Linked DNA regions of Homo sapiens: all the other regions are linked to region 1. The links are contacts of gene promoters, found by promoter capture Hi-C in blood cells and fetal thymus (Javierre and others, 2016). All regions are on one chromosome and are shown on one strand. Each heading gives the region's core, a stretch centred on a gene start or on the middle of the fragment in contact. The rest is flanking DNA. Distances are from core to core; before and after follow the strand shown.

Region 1 (3,251 bases), core at 317-2,816:
TAGTAGAGACAGGCTCTTGCCACGTTGGCCAGGCTGGTCTCAAACTCCTGACCTCAGGTGATCCACCTGCCTCGGCCTTCCAACGTGCTGGAATTACAGGTGTGAACCACTGCACAGGTAGACTTTTTTTTTTGTTTGAGACGAAATCTGTCACCCAGACTGGAGTGCACTGGTGCAATCTCAGCTCACTGCAACCTCCTCCTCCCCATGCCTCAGCCTCCCAAGTAGCTGGAACTATAGCTGCACCACCATGCCCGGCTAGTTCTTTTTGTATTTTTAGTAGAGATGGGGTTTCACCATGTTGGCCAGGCTGGTCTTGAACTCCTGAACTCAAGTGATCTGCCCTCCTTGGCCTCCCAAAGTGCTGGCATTACAGGCGTGAGCCACCACGCCCAGCCTTCAGACTTCCTATTTAAAGCAAGATGAGGCCGGGCGCGGTGGCTCATGCCCGTAATCCCAGCACTTTGGGAGGCCAAGGTGGGCGGATCACAAGGTCAGGAGATTGAGACCATCCTGGCTAACACGGTGAAACCCCGTCTCTACAAAAAATACAAAAAATTAGCCAGGCGTGGTGGCAGGCACCTGTAGTCCCAGCTACTCGGGAGGCTGAGGCAGGAGAATGACATGAACCCGGGAGGCGGAGCTTGCAGTGAGCCGAGATCACACCACTGCACTCCAGCCTGGGCGACAGAGCGAGACTCCATCTCTAAATAAATAAATAAATAAATAAAGCAAGATGAATATTGTCTGGCAATACGGCTGCACCCATGCTACCCAGTGACCCAAACACAATGCCAAAGAAAGTGACAACTTTTTCATCATAATACCTCCTTTGTTCCCAAATCCACTATGCCCAAGTCCTATGCTTCTGCCTACACTAACCTTGAGAAAGGGGACTCTCCTGGCAATAGGAGGTGTCAGCATACTCTCCAGCTTCTGGGAGAGATCTTCCAGCAAGAAAAGCAGCTCAGGGGGCCCAAGTTGCACAACTTCTGTAGCCTGTCACATGGAGGAAAGGATTAGTTCCAGGAATGTCCTAGTCATTTCATGATAATTTTTTTTCTTTCTTTTTTGTTAAATGTGCAGTGGCAAGATCATAGCTATTCCAGCCTTGAACTCCTGGGCCCAAGTTATCCTCCCATCTCAGCCTCCCGAGTAGCGGGGACTATAGGCACACACAACCATGCCCAGCTACATTTTTTTTTTTAATTAATAAGAAATGAGGTCTCACTATATTGCCCAAGCTGGTCTCAAACTCCTGGGCTCAGATGATCCTTCTGCCTTGGCCTCCCAATATGCCAGGATTACAGGTATGAACCACCACACCTGGGCCCAGCGAATTTTTAAATTTTTTTATACAGACGGGGTCTCACTTTGTTGCCCAGGCTGGTTTCAAACTCCTGGGCTTGAGCAATCCTCCTGCCTTGGCCTCCCAAGGTATTGGGATTATGGACAGGCATGAGCCACCACACCTGGCTATTTCATGTTAATACTTCCCAATGGGTGAAAAAAAAATTTTTTTTTTGAGACAGAGTCTTGTTCCGTCACCCAGGCTGGAGGGCAGTGGCATGATCTTGGCTCACTACAACCTCTGCGTCCCAGGTTCAAGCAATTCTCCTGCCTCAGCCTCCCAAGTAGCTGGCATTACAGGTGCCCACCACCATGCCTGACTAATTTTTGTATTTTTAGTAGAAATGGGTTTCATCACGTTGGCCAGGCTAGTCTCAAACCCGACCTCAGGTGATAACGCCTGTCTCAGCCTCCCAAAGTGCTGTGATTAGAGGCGTGAGCCACTGCGCCCAGCAGGGTAAATAATTTGACTTTTATTTATTTATTTACTTATATTTGAGACAGGGTCTCGCTCTGTTGCTCAGGCTGGAGTGCAATATTGTGTTCACAGCTCACTGCAGCCTCAACCTCCTGGACTCAAGTGATGGTCCCACCTCAGCCGCCCAGGTAGCTGGGATCACAGGTGTGCGTCACCATGCCTGGCTACTTTTTTTTTTTAACTTTTTGTAGAGACAGGTCTCACTGTGTTACCCAGGCTGGTCTCAAACTCCCAGTACTTTGGGAGGTCAAGGCAGGCAGATCATTTGAGGTCAGGAGTCTGAGACCAGCCTGGCCAATGTGGTGAAATCCCATCTCTACTAAAAATACAAAAATTAGCTGATGTGGTGGTGGGCACCTGTAATCCCAGCTGCTTGGGAGGCTGAGGCAGAAGAATCGCTTGAGCTCAGGAGGCAGAAGAATCACTTGAGCTCAGGAGGCAGAGGCTGCAGTAAGCCAAGATCGTGCCACTGCACTCCAGACTGACGGACAGAGCAAGACTCCGTCTCCAACAAACAAACAAACAAATAAAAAAACTAGCCGGGTGTAGTGGGGCATGCCAGTGGCCCTAGATACTTGGAAGGCTGAGGTGGGAGGATCACTTGATCCTTGAACCCAGGAGTTCAAGGTTGCAGTGAGCTATGATCTTGCCACTGCACTTCAGCCTGGGTGACAGAGCAAGACTCTGTCTCTAAAAAGAAAAAAGAGGCAAGGGAGGAAACTGCACCCATCTCATATAAAGGATAGCTATTATGCTCTGTCATATAATAAAGTCAAGCATGTCCAAAATAAATATTCAGAATAGTAAAATAATAATTCAAGACAGGATAGTTTAGAAGACATACTTTTTCTCTATAAATTCCTCTGTATACCTTTCTAGTTGTGGATCCAAGATGCGTTTCCTAAATATCCTGTGATTTAAAAAATGACTTTGAATGCCACACACAGGGTTTGGGAAAAAAAAAAAAGACTAATTCAAGGGAATTTCCCTTTTGTCTGTTCATTAAATAATCCTTTCATACTTGTTTTCCTCTAATGTTTTGCTACTATTAACTCTGGGCAGGACCCCAGAGTGATCCCAGTGGAATAGCTATATTACACTGCTAGAAGCAGAATGGGTGAAATACAGTCTCACTGCAAACTGCTCACTCAATACACATTTATGTGGCATCTCCTAAGGGCAAGATGATGTAGAAAGATTAAAAAAAAAAAAAAAAGATATGGCTGGGCGCAGTGGCTCACACCTGTAATCCCAACACTTTGGGAGGCCAAGGCGGGCGGATCACGAGGTCAGGAGATCGAGACCATCCTGGCTAACAACGGTGAAACCTCGTCTCTATTAAAAATACAAAAAATTAGCCAGGCATGGTGGCAGGCACCTGTAGTCCCAGCTACTTGGGAGGCTGAGGCAGGATAATGGTGTG
Region 2 (3,251 bases), core at 550-3,049, 430 kb after region 1:
TAGCGAGACCATGTCTCTAGGAAAATAAAGAAAAATTAGCCAGGCATGGTGGTGTGTACCTGTGGTCCCAGGTGCTTGGCAGGCTTAAGTGGGAGGATCGCTCAAACCCAGGATTTCGAGGCTGCAGTAAGTCATGGTTGCACCACTGCAATCCAGCCTGGGCAGCAGAGCGAGACCCTGTCTCAACACAAAAAACAAAAACAAACAAACAAAAAAGCCAGGCGCGGTGGCTCACGCCTGTATCCCAGCACTTTGGGAGGCTGAGGTAGGCGGATCACCTGAGCTCAGGAGTTCAAGACCAGCCTGGCCAACCTGGGGAAACTCCATCTCTACTAAAAACTACAATAATTAGCTGGGCGTGGTGGTGGGGTCCTGTAATCCCAGCTACTTGGGAAGTTGAGGCAGGGAGAATTGCTTGAACTGGGGAGGCGGAGGATGCAGTAAGCTGAGATTGCGCCACTGCACTCCAGCCTAGGCGACAAAGCGAGACTCCTTCTCAAAAGAAAAAAAAAAAAAAAGCAAATTCCAGGATCCCACCCCCAGAAATTCTGACTTGGTAGGACTGGGTGGGACTAAGGAATCTCTGTTTTCACAAAGTATCCCATAAGCACAAATTTTAAAAGTACCCCAGATGATCATTAAACAGGTGGTCCCCAGACTATACTTGGAAAAATTACTTGGCCATTTGGAGAGTGAGGAAGTCCAATCCTTACTGAAGTCTTCCCTGGGTTACTTCAGAGACTACAAGATGCCAACTACAGAATAGCAACTCACGGTAATCTCTGAGGTCAAATCAGAGTTCTGTGGTGCAGGATGGAACAGAATTCCACTGGAAAACTTGGTGCTAAAGCTGCCAAAACCACGTGGGGGAATGAGATGGCAGGGTCGGCAAGATTCCCACCGCACTGCCAGCCAGTGCTTAGGGTGGGGATGGCCTGAGCTGACAGGAAGCCCTCCAGGTCTGGCGATAAGACGACTGGGTGGAAATCCCAAAGGGAGCAAAAAGAGGAACGGAGACCTGCTTTAGATAAAGGAACTGAAAGGGAGTGTGGGTTGTCTTCCTGCTCTATAGGGGAAGGAAAGGGATGGGCCTAAGTCATGCTGAGACCTTATAAGGGGGCAGCACACTGGGTTCACCTCCTGGCTCCATTCTGACCTCTGACCCCGAGGAATCGTCTCCCTATTTTTCTTAGCTTTTTCTTGGGGCTTTTTCCCTGACACAACTCATCCTACGGCACCTGAAGCAGGGAATAGACCTTCCTTAGGTCCTCCTCTCTGATCTTTGAACCTGGCCCCTCAGCTTGATCTCTCACCTCCAGACCCCTTCTCAAACAAGAAGGACCTCTTTGCTGGGCTCATTCTGACCCCAGTTCCTCCTTTTATGGTTGTCAAGACCGACTCTTATACTCCGGATACAGACCCTGGAGAACTCCTCTCTCTCTCTCCTCTTCCTCAGCGGCGAGGTACCACTCCTACCTTTTTCTGACCCCTGGCCTCAGCCTTTCCTCTGTAACTTCCCAAGTTAGGAGCCTTCCCCAGCTCATCGCACCTCCAATCTCACCTTAGAGCCGCCGGTCCCGCTGCCATCCTTGGCCCGGTACTGAGTCCGGGAGAACTCCTCCAGCAGCTCCCCAAGCCCCAGCTCCTGAGGCGGCTGGTTGCCTGAAGAGGCCGAGGACCCCGCCGAGGCAGCGGCGGCGGCGGCCCGAGCGCCGGCCATGGCCCAGCCCCGCGTCCCCTCAGTGTGCCTCAAGCGGGCCCATGGCACCTGCCTGCACCCAACTCCGACACTAGAACCTCCGGAACCGCCTCAGCCACCGCCTTCTACTTCCACTTCCACTTCCGGCCCCGCCCCGTCCCGCCGGATGTTTACTCCGACTCTGGCCAATCGGAGCTCTGGACCCGCGCCCCGCCTACGATTACTGGCCCGCCCCCGGCGCAGAGCGATCCTTCTATCCACCAGGGAGGCCACTGGCTGATACCGCGTGATCCGCCCCAAGGGGTTTCCCCCGGGGAAGCCGGGCTCAACCATTGGGCTGCCGGGGGAGGGGGGTAGCAGGAAGGAACCATTGAAAAGAACCAGAGGAAAAGTGGAATCAACAATTACAGGGAAGCCGAGCGTGGTGGCTCACACCTGTCATCCCAGCACTTTGGGGGGCCGAGGCGGGCGGATCACTTGAGGCCAAGAGTTCGAGACCAGGCTGCCAAAATGGTGAAACCGCATCTCTACTAAAAATAAAAAAATTAGCCGGGCATGGTGACACCCACCTGTAATCCCAACTACTTGGGAGGCTGAGGCAGGAGAATCGCTTGAACCCATGAGGCTGAGGTTGCAATGAGCCGAAATCGAACCACTACACTCCAGCCTGGGTGACAGAGCAATACTCTGTCTTAAGAAAAAAAAAAAATTACAGGGCGAGGAGGAGAGAACGCTTGGAGGCAACAAATTAGTACTAGAAACCATAATGGCAGTGGTTACCAATATTAAAACATTTCAGCCGGCCGCGGTGTCTCACGCCTGTAATCCCAGCACTTTGGTAGGCCGAGGCAGGCGGATTATGAAGTGAGGCATTCGAGACCAGCCTGATCAACGCAGTGAAACCCCGTCTCTACTAAAAATACAAAAATTAGCCGCGCGTGGTGGCAGGTGCCTGTAATCCCAGCTACTCGGGAGGCTGAGGCAGGAGAATTGCTTGAACCCGGGAGGCGGAGAGTGAGCCGAGATCGCGCCACTGCACTCCAGCCTGGGTGACAGAATGAGACTCCGTCTCTAAAACAAAAACAAAAACACAACATTTCATAAAACCCTTTCTCCCCCTGCTGCTCACAACATCCCTGTGAGTACAGTGCATTATATCATCAGCCCTATTTTATTGAGGTAGAAACTGGGAGTCAGGGAGGTGAAGCGACTGCCTTGAAATTCTGTGATGAGAAGCCTCTCATTATTATTATTATTAGAATATTTCAGACATTCGCAAAAGTGGAGACAATAGTATAATGAACCCTCATGTACCCATTAACTGGTTTTGAACAATAATCAACATCTGCTTATCTATCCTGTTTAAGCAGTCCCTTCCCATCCAGGGAATTATTTTAAAGCAAATCCCAGACATCACATTATTTCAGCTGTGAATACTTAAGCATTTATCACAACAGATTTGTACTTCAAAAAAAAAATACATAAAAAATATAAGGCTATTAACATGCCTAAGAAAATTAACAATATTCCTTAATGTGGTCTAATACCCAGT
Region 3 (3,251 bases), core at 374-2,873, 310 kb after region 1:
CCTCTCTCTGAGTCTCAGTTTACACTGAGTCTAGCTCTCATGTTTTGAATAGTGTTCTAGGCACTTCATATCATTATATCATAGAATTCTCAGAACTCTGAGTCAATCTTCAATATTCCCATGTTCCCGAGTAAGAAACTGAGGTTCGGAGAGGTAAAGCATGACCAGGATCAGTTAGACTCCAAAGCCTTTCCAGGAACCTCAGCTATCTTCCTCTCTCATCTGTAAGATGGGCATAATAAATTGGCCAGGTGCAGTGGCTCATGCCTGTAATTCCAGAACCTTGGGAAGCTGATTGGGGAGGATTGCTTGAGCCCAGGAGTTTGAGACCAGCCTGGGCAATATAGTGAGATCCCCATCTCTACAAAAAATAAAAAAGCCAGGTGTGGTGGCACGCACCTGTAGTCCCATCTACATGGGAGGCTGAGGTAGGAAGATGACTTGAGCCCAGGAGTTTGAGGCTGCAGTGGGCCGTGATCATGCCATTGCACTCCAGCCTGGGTGACAGAGCAAGACCCTGTCTTAAAAAAAAAAGAAAAAGAAAAAAAGAAGAAGAGAAAGAAAGAAAAAAGAAAGAAAGAAAGAGAAAAAGGAAATGAGCTGGGCATAAGCACTGTTCTCTCCCCATCACCAGCTGGAACATGCAAGAATTCAGGAGTAGGGAGTGGCACTTGGAGGCCCTTGGAGGTGGAGTGGGGTCCCAAGCAACGTGCCTCCTCCGGCTGCCCCCAGTTCAGCCCCATCCCCAATTCCTGCGAGTTGCTCCCCCCGCCCCCTCTTTCCACTCGGCACCAAATTTCTTCCCAAGGAAGGCCTTGAGCAAACCGACCTTTGGCCTCTTGCCTGCCGTCCTAGTTGCAGGCTCTCTCCCCTAACCTGGACCCCAGCCATCAAACTCTGGAGCCCCGCCAGTCACGTGACACCTCGGTCCTTTTTGGCCTGTTTCCTTCAGGATCCCGATTTAACTTCCTCCTCCCCAATTCCCTCTGCCCCCAATACCTCTAGGCACCACCACCCGCTCTGAGGAGCAAGTGTCTGGGGCTGAAGCCTCAGCTCCATCTTGCAGAGGAACCGGGGCCTCAGTCTTCCCACCTGTCAAGTGGGGCCCACACCCTGCGACCACCTCCACTCTCTTCATTGCCTAGTCTTGCCCGGTCCTTCCCCACTCCCTCACTCCCCCATCCCCCACCAGACTCCCGTGCAGTTCCAGGGCCTGTTTCCCTTCAGGGCACGGAGAAGGGAGACAGAGCCCTAAGGGAGGTCGCAGAACTGGTCTGAAAGAAAATCCACCAGGCCACAGGGTGAGTTTGGCCGGCCTCTAGCTTCAGACAGACGGGGTTCGAATCCTGCTTTGCTTCCGACCACCCGCTGATTTGAAAATCATCTCTCCGGGCCTCAGTTGTCCCCTCTGTGAAATGGACCCCGCTTAAGACCAAGGGCGGGAAGCGTCCAGCAGGAGATCTCTGACCAGAAGCAGGGAGATGGCCTCCACCCGTGCCCCTTCCCCAGCCTTGGAGCGGTGCCTCGCCTCCCAATCCCGGGTCCCTCCGCCGCAGGCTCCACCTCCACTGACATCAGAGCCGCAGGCGGGCGGAGAGAGCCGCCGAGCCGAGCCGAGCCCCAGCTCCAGCAAGAGCGCGGGCGGGTGGCCCAGGCACGCAGCGGTGAGGACCGCGGCCACAGCTCGGCGCCAACCACCGCGGGCCTCCCAGCCAGCCCCGCGGCGGGGCAGCCGCAGGTACAGCCGGGCCCCCCATCCCTGCACCCCTGGGCGCTGCGTGGGGGCGGTGGGAGCCCCTAGCCTCTGGGTATCCTTTCCCAAGGAGTGGCCACTGGGCACTCTCCCGGGCGGGCTGGACCCTGAGGGGCAGGGCTGGGCCTTTCTCCACCTCTGTCCCAGGCCCAGCAGGTGCCAGGCGGGCCTATGGGACACTGAGTGGGTAATAGAGAAGGGGGCCTGTGTGAGCGCCTTCAGCTGGGCCTGACTGGAAGGGCGTGGGCATTTGGAGGTATCCATGGGGTGGGGGGGCTTGCGGAGTGTACTGTCTTAGGACAGGCGTGTGGGTCAGACATGGGTGGAGGATCTGGGAATCTGTGTGTTTTTTGTTCCAGAGGGGTGTCCACGTGTTTTGTGTGCTGGTATTTGGCTCTCAGGGTCTTAAGTCAGAGTTAGGAGGGGGTGTACAATTGTGTACTGAGGATGTTTGGAGTTAGGTGTGTAAGGACTTGGGGTTTGGTTTGGAATACAGGAGCTTCCAGGGGATGGGGTAGAGGAGCTGGAGGGTGTAGGGTACGTCTGGTATATGAGGGTGTGTGTGTGTGTGTCTGGGTGTCATCTTGTGTGGGTGCGGGTGGATGTGTGTTTTGGGGTGTAAGAGGGAGCTGGGTGAGGGATGTTTGGATGGACAGGCAGGTGTTCGGGTGCAGGGCTGTCTGGGGCACTGTGTGGTGTGGACATGTGTGCTGATGTCTGGGAGTACATGTATGATCAGGTGTCACGGGATGTGGATACAAGGCGTACTGGATCTGGGAGGCAGGTGTTTGAGTTCAGGGCTGTGGAGGGGGCTTGGTGTGGCATGTCTGCTACAGGGATGTGTGTGGATCTGTGAGGGTTGTATTTGGTAGGCCTCCATGTGGGTTTCAGACTCTGCCTCTAGAGCTTACACTCGAGTCTCCTTTCCTAGAAGATTCTGCCCCTGGATGGGTGGGCAGGGTCCCCTGGGAAAAAGGTCCTGTTCCAGGAGTGGAATCTCACACCAGAGGCCCTAGTCAGGGCACCTTCTCCTCATTCTCCCTTAGAGAAAAAGAGAGAAGGAAAGTGCTCTCCCTGAGGTCACAAAGCATGCTGGGCTCTGTTTTGGCCTCATCTGTGGATGGGTTGGGAGGCTGTGTTCTCTGAATGGGGCCCATTCTGGCTTCATATTGGAAGTACCAGCCAAGGCCATTCGATGGCCTTTGCCCTCAGCAAGCTTAGCTGGGGGCCCCAGGCCAGGTGTCATTAGGGCCTCTGGAGCCAGCCTCTACCTAACTCCAACCTCAGTCTCCCCATTCTTCATCTGATAAATGGGAGAGAACTCCCACCCTCTCCTGCTGGATGAGACAGACCTCAGCAGAGGAAGGGCCAGGCTGGATAGGGTTAGATGGGGCCAGGAAGGGACAGAGTGAGCAGGACCATTTCTCATGCTCCCGGGACCCAGATGGGGAGTCAGGAGGGAGAGGTCTGGGGAGCTCCAGCTGTGGCTGTTGTTGCT
Region 4 (3,251 bases), core at 248-2,747, 290 kb after region 1:
ACTAGAGGTCTAATTTCAAGGTCTCTTCAAGATATCCAGGCAAACCTTGAAAGAGAGCTGAGAAGCCAGATTAGGAGTCATCAGAATGAAGAAAGTTATCGAAGCCAGGAGACTAGATCGGTATCACCAGGGAAGGTGTGACGAAGAGGGAGATGGTCATCCAAAGTCACAACTCCCAGGAATGCCCACACGTATGAAAAAGGCCCACATGTATGAAAAAGGCCCACATGTATGAAAAAGGGAGGACTTCCAGGAAGGGAGGGATGAGCAGTATCACAGCTAACATACACTAAGGCTGACACAGTTCAGTTCTGACCAGGAAGGGCCTGAATGGAAGCAACACGAGAGATCCTCCAATGGGGTGGAAGCAGGGCTGGAGGTACCAAGAATGGGATAAGGAAGTGTGGCCGCCTGCCTTAAGCAACTGTAGGGTCAGGAAGGCAGAAGAGGACAAAGGGCGTATGTCGTGAAGTTCCACTGTGGATAGGCAGGTGGACTTGCTTCATGCCTCAGAGGCTAAGAGGCCGACTACGTACCCTCGAAATGCTCCAAAGAGCCTAGGAGACCCCACTTCCGGGTTCCTACAGGGCTCAGGAAAAGCCCCTACCTGCTTCGAAGGCTGACCGTGAAGCCACAAGGCCCACTTCATACCAGGGAGTACCCCCACTCGCCCCTTCCTCACCTCGGGCCCCCGCCCCGTCTCTTTTTCCCACCCTCATCGTGTCCCCACAACCCCCGGACATCCCTCGGCCCCGCGCCCCTGCGGCAAAGCCACATCTCCCACCGACCCACTGCCCTGAGGCCGAACAGCCGGGGGTCCCTGGCCGGGGGCCCGGCTCTCTCACCATCGCGGGCGCTGGCTGGGCCGGAAAGCGGAAGTACGGAAGTGGCCAGCCCCGCGATGCCTGCCCTTTCGCGAGAAGCGCAGCTACGGTCTCCGCCCGGACTTCCGGACGGTACCATCTATGCTCCGAGCGGGGTAGAGAGCCCTTACGAACGCTTGGGCCTTCCGGAAGTTTTCCACCTAGGGCTGTCTCGGTATTTTTAAATTCTTGCACTCGAGTCACTATTTAAGCTCCTCCAGGAATGGGTGCAGCTTCCCTTTGTGCCTTCGGCCTTCTTGTCACCTTTGCCACAGCCTCCCCCAGGTATGCAATGGTACAGCCCAGCTTCAGATTGGGCACCAAATTAGGACAAGCCGAAGCGGACGAGCCCTTCGTTTCTTCCGGTTCTGTACCCCCATCCTTTCTCTCGCCCCTCCTACCCGCAGCTCCTGGCGCTCGGCGGGGCTAACTGCAGCGCGGAGATCTCGGCCGCCAAGCTCCGCCTCCCGCCCCGGGCTGTGCCCCGGGGCTCGCCTGAGGCCGACCACCCGCACCCCACCTCTAGCGGCTTTGCTCGAGGCCCACCTTCTTCCCACCCCCGGCAAACTCCAGTAGGCTCGCCCTCGCTGACTCCCCGCCCCCGCGTCAACTGCAAGGGGCCCGCCCATAGCCAGTTCCGGGGCGGTTGCTCACATCGACCGGAACTCCCCGCCCCCTCCCGCGGCCCCTGGGGCCGTAGGAGGCCGCAGCGAGGAGGTAGAGGGGGCGGGGGTCGCACTAGGGTGTCCCTAGAGAACGAGGACTCTGAAGGCGGGACATTTGGGCGACCCCCGGGCGGGGCCAGCCATTAAACAGTCCCACTTCTGTGCCAGACACTGAACTGGGCTCTTGACGGGCATCATCTCTTAATCCTCAGAACATCCCAGGGAGGTAGGTACTATTGTTATCCCCATTTTTCAGATTCAGACTTTTAATGGGGAAACAGACCGAGACTTCTTTTGTCCCCATTTTACAGATGGAAAAACTGAGACTGAAAAAGGTCAAATAACATGTTCAGGGGCATATAAGTAGAGAATGGTAAAGCCTGGGCTTGAACCCAGGTCTGTCTGGCTTACCAGCCCACGTTCTAAACCACTGTTAGTGACTAGAGAAGGGAGAAAGGTGGAATAGGGTAAGAAAAGAGGCCAAGAGTCCCAGAGAACATGGTAAGAATGGGGTGCTTGGAACTCAAAGTCTTAGCAGAACCCAAGAGAAATAGAAGGGAAGGAAAGAGCATCAGAAAGGCGAGGCAAGGCATAGCAGTATAGCATGGTGATCAGGGTGCAGACTCAAGACTAGCGGGGTTCAAATTGCATCTTGGAAGCATAGGCACATACCCACCCTTACAGAGTCTCAGTTTCTTTCTCTGTAAAAACGAGATCACAATGGTCCTTGTTCATGGTGCTGAGTGAGAAATTCAGTGAGATAAACTGATAAAGTGCTCTGCACCTAGCTTGGTACCCAGTTAAGTGCCCTGTGAGTAGGAACTGTGCCATCAATTTTGTCAGTAAGGGACTGAAGCTGGGCTTCCTTGAGGCTGTCCCTGGAGGTAAGAAGCCCTTGGGCTTTTCTCAGACCACTTTGTCTCCCATCAATGGCCCTGTCCTCTCCAGCTCCACAGGATCCCCATATCCTGGGCCATGAGTGAGTTGAAAGACTGCCCCTTGCAGTTCCACGACTTCAAGTCTGTGGATCACCTGAAGGTCTGTCCCCGCTACACGGCAGTGCTGGCACGCTCTGAGGATGATGGCATCGGCATCGAGGAGCTGGACACCCTGCAGCTGGAGCTGGAGACCCTGCTGTCTTCTGCCAGCCGGCGCCTGCGTGTGCTTGAGGCCGAAACCCAGGTGATAACCCCAGAGAGGGGCCAGCACCAGAGATGGACTGCAACAAGTTATGGGATGGGTCATTGAGTTAGCCCCATATGCTGAGACTTGGGGTACAGGGGTTTGTGGGGAGAGGGAGAGAGACGCAAACTGGGTTTGCATGACACAAAAAATACACAAGAATATGCATGATCCTCTTAAATTGCAAGATTTCTAATTCAGTAAGCTTTTATTGGCACCCCACTCATCCCCCATTGTGTTCTGGGTCCTATGCTAGTCATTAGAGAAAGGTAATTAGGACAGTTATGGCTGTCAGGGAGCTTGGCAACTAGGAAAGTGAGAAAGTCAAGTACATACCAGGTGATGTGATGTTGTGGTTAGCAGTCCTAGGGAACTGGAATGGGGAAACCTGGATTTGAATCCTGGCATAAGCGCTTGCTAGCATTGCTGTTTCCTAGCTATGTGACTTTGAGAAAGTTGCCTCATATCTCTGAGTGTCAGTTTCCCTATCTGCAAAGTGGGGTGAATAATAGGACCTACCTTAGTGCTTTTGTGAGGATTA

Evidence for each region. Contacts are between HindIII fragments. The CHiCAGO score rates a contact against its expected background, and 5 or more counts as called.
Region 2: a contact is called between the fragment with the promoter of MTMR14 here and a fragment that was not itself captured in region 1, in 1 of 17 cell types (neutrophils). The highest score is 5.2, in neutrophils.
Region 3: a contact is called between the fragment with the promoter of CAMK1 here and a fragment that was not itself captured in region 1, in 1 of 17 cell types (monocytes). The highest score is 5.5, in monocytes.
Region 4: a contact is called between the fragment with the promoter of TADA3 here and a fragment that was not itself captured in region 1, in 3 of 17 cell types (naive CD8 T cells, neutrophils and erythroblasts). The highest score is 5.3, in naive CD8 T cells.

Annotation. Positions count from the first base shown.
Region 1 is chr3:10,075,829-10,079,079 of GRCh38, reverse strand. It overlaps FANCD2 (FA complementation group D2), which reads right to left. Exons shown (of 44, transcript NM_001018115.3): 30 at 883-999. Among named protein-coding and RNA genes, the nearest start is that of FANCD2OS, 31 kb to the left of the region's middle. The HindIII fragment of the contact is 8,985 bases long and covers 1-3,251 here.
Region 2 is chr3:9,648,053-9,651,303 of GRCh38, reverse strand. It overlaps MTMR14 (myotubularin related protein 14), which reads right to left and starts at 1,799. Exons shown (of 19, transcript NM_001077525.3): 1 at 1,562-1,799. The coding sequence starts at 1,720. RefSeq lists silencers at 1,635-1,734, 1,835-1,944 and enhancers at 1,816-1,985, 1,272-2,167, 1,975-2,204. The HindIII fragment of the contact is 16,951 bases long and covers 1-3,251 here.
Region 3 is chr3:9,768,319-9,771,569 of GRCh38, reverse strand. CAMK1 (calcium/calmodulin dependent protein kinase I) reads left to right here and starts at 1,623. Exons shown (of 12, transcript NM_003656.5): 1 at 1,623-1,738. It also overlaps a transcript of OGG1 not described here. RefSeq lists a silencer at 1,673-1,852. The HindIII fragment of the contact is 10,493 bases long and covers 1-2,971 here.
Region 4 is chr3:9,790,719-9,793,969 of GRCh38, reverse strand. TADA3 (transcriptional adaptor 3) reads left to right here and starts at 1,497. Exons shown (of 9, transcript NM_006354.5): 1 at 1,497-1,754; 2 at 2,477-2,710. The coding sequence starts at 2,504. It overlaps ARPC4-TTLL3 (ARPC4-TTLL3 readthrough), which reads right to left and starts at 1,422. Exons shown (of 12, transcript NM_001198793.1): 1 at 846-1,422. The coding sequence starts at 848. ARPC4 (actin related protein 2/3 complex subunit 4) reads right to left here and starts at 888. Exons shown (of 6, transcript NM_005718.5): 1 at 846-888. The coding sequence starts at 848. It also overlaps a transcript of OGG1 not described here. RefSeq lists enhancers at 223-312, 512-1,038, 1,013-1,112, 1,039-1,565, 2,670-3,170 and silencers at 1,243-1,532, 1,593-1,682. The HindIII fragment of the contact is 10,858 bases long and covers 1-2,917 here.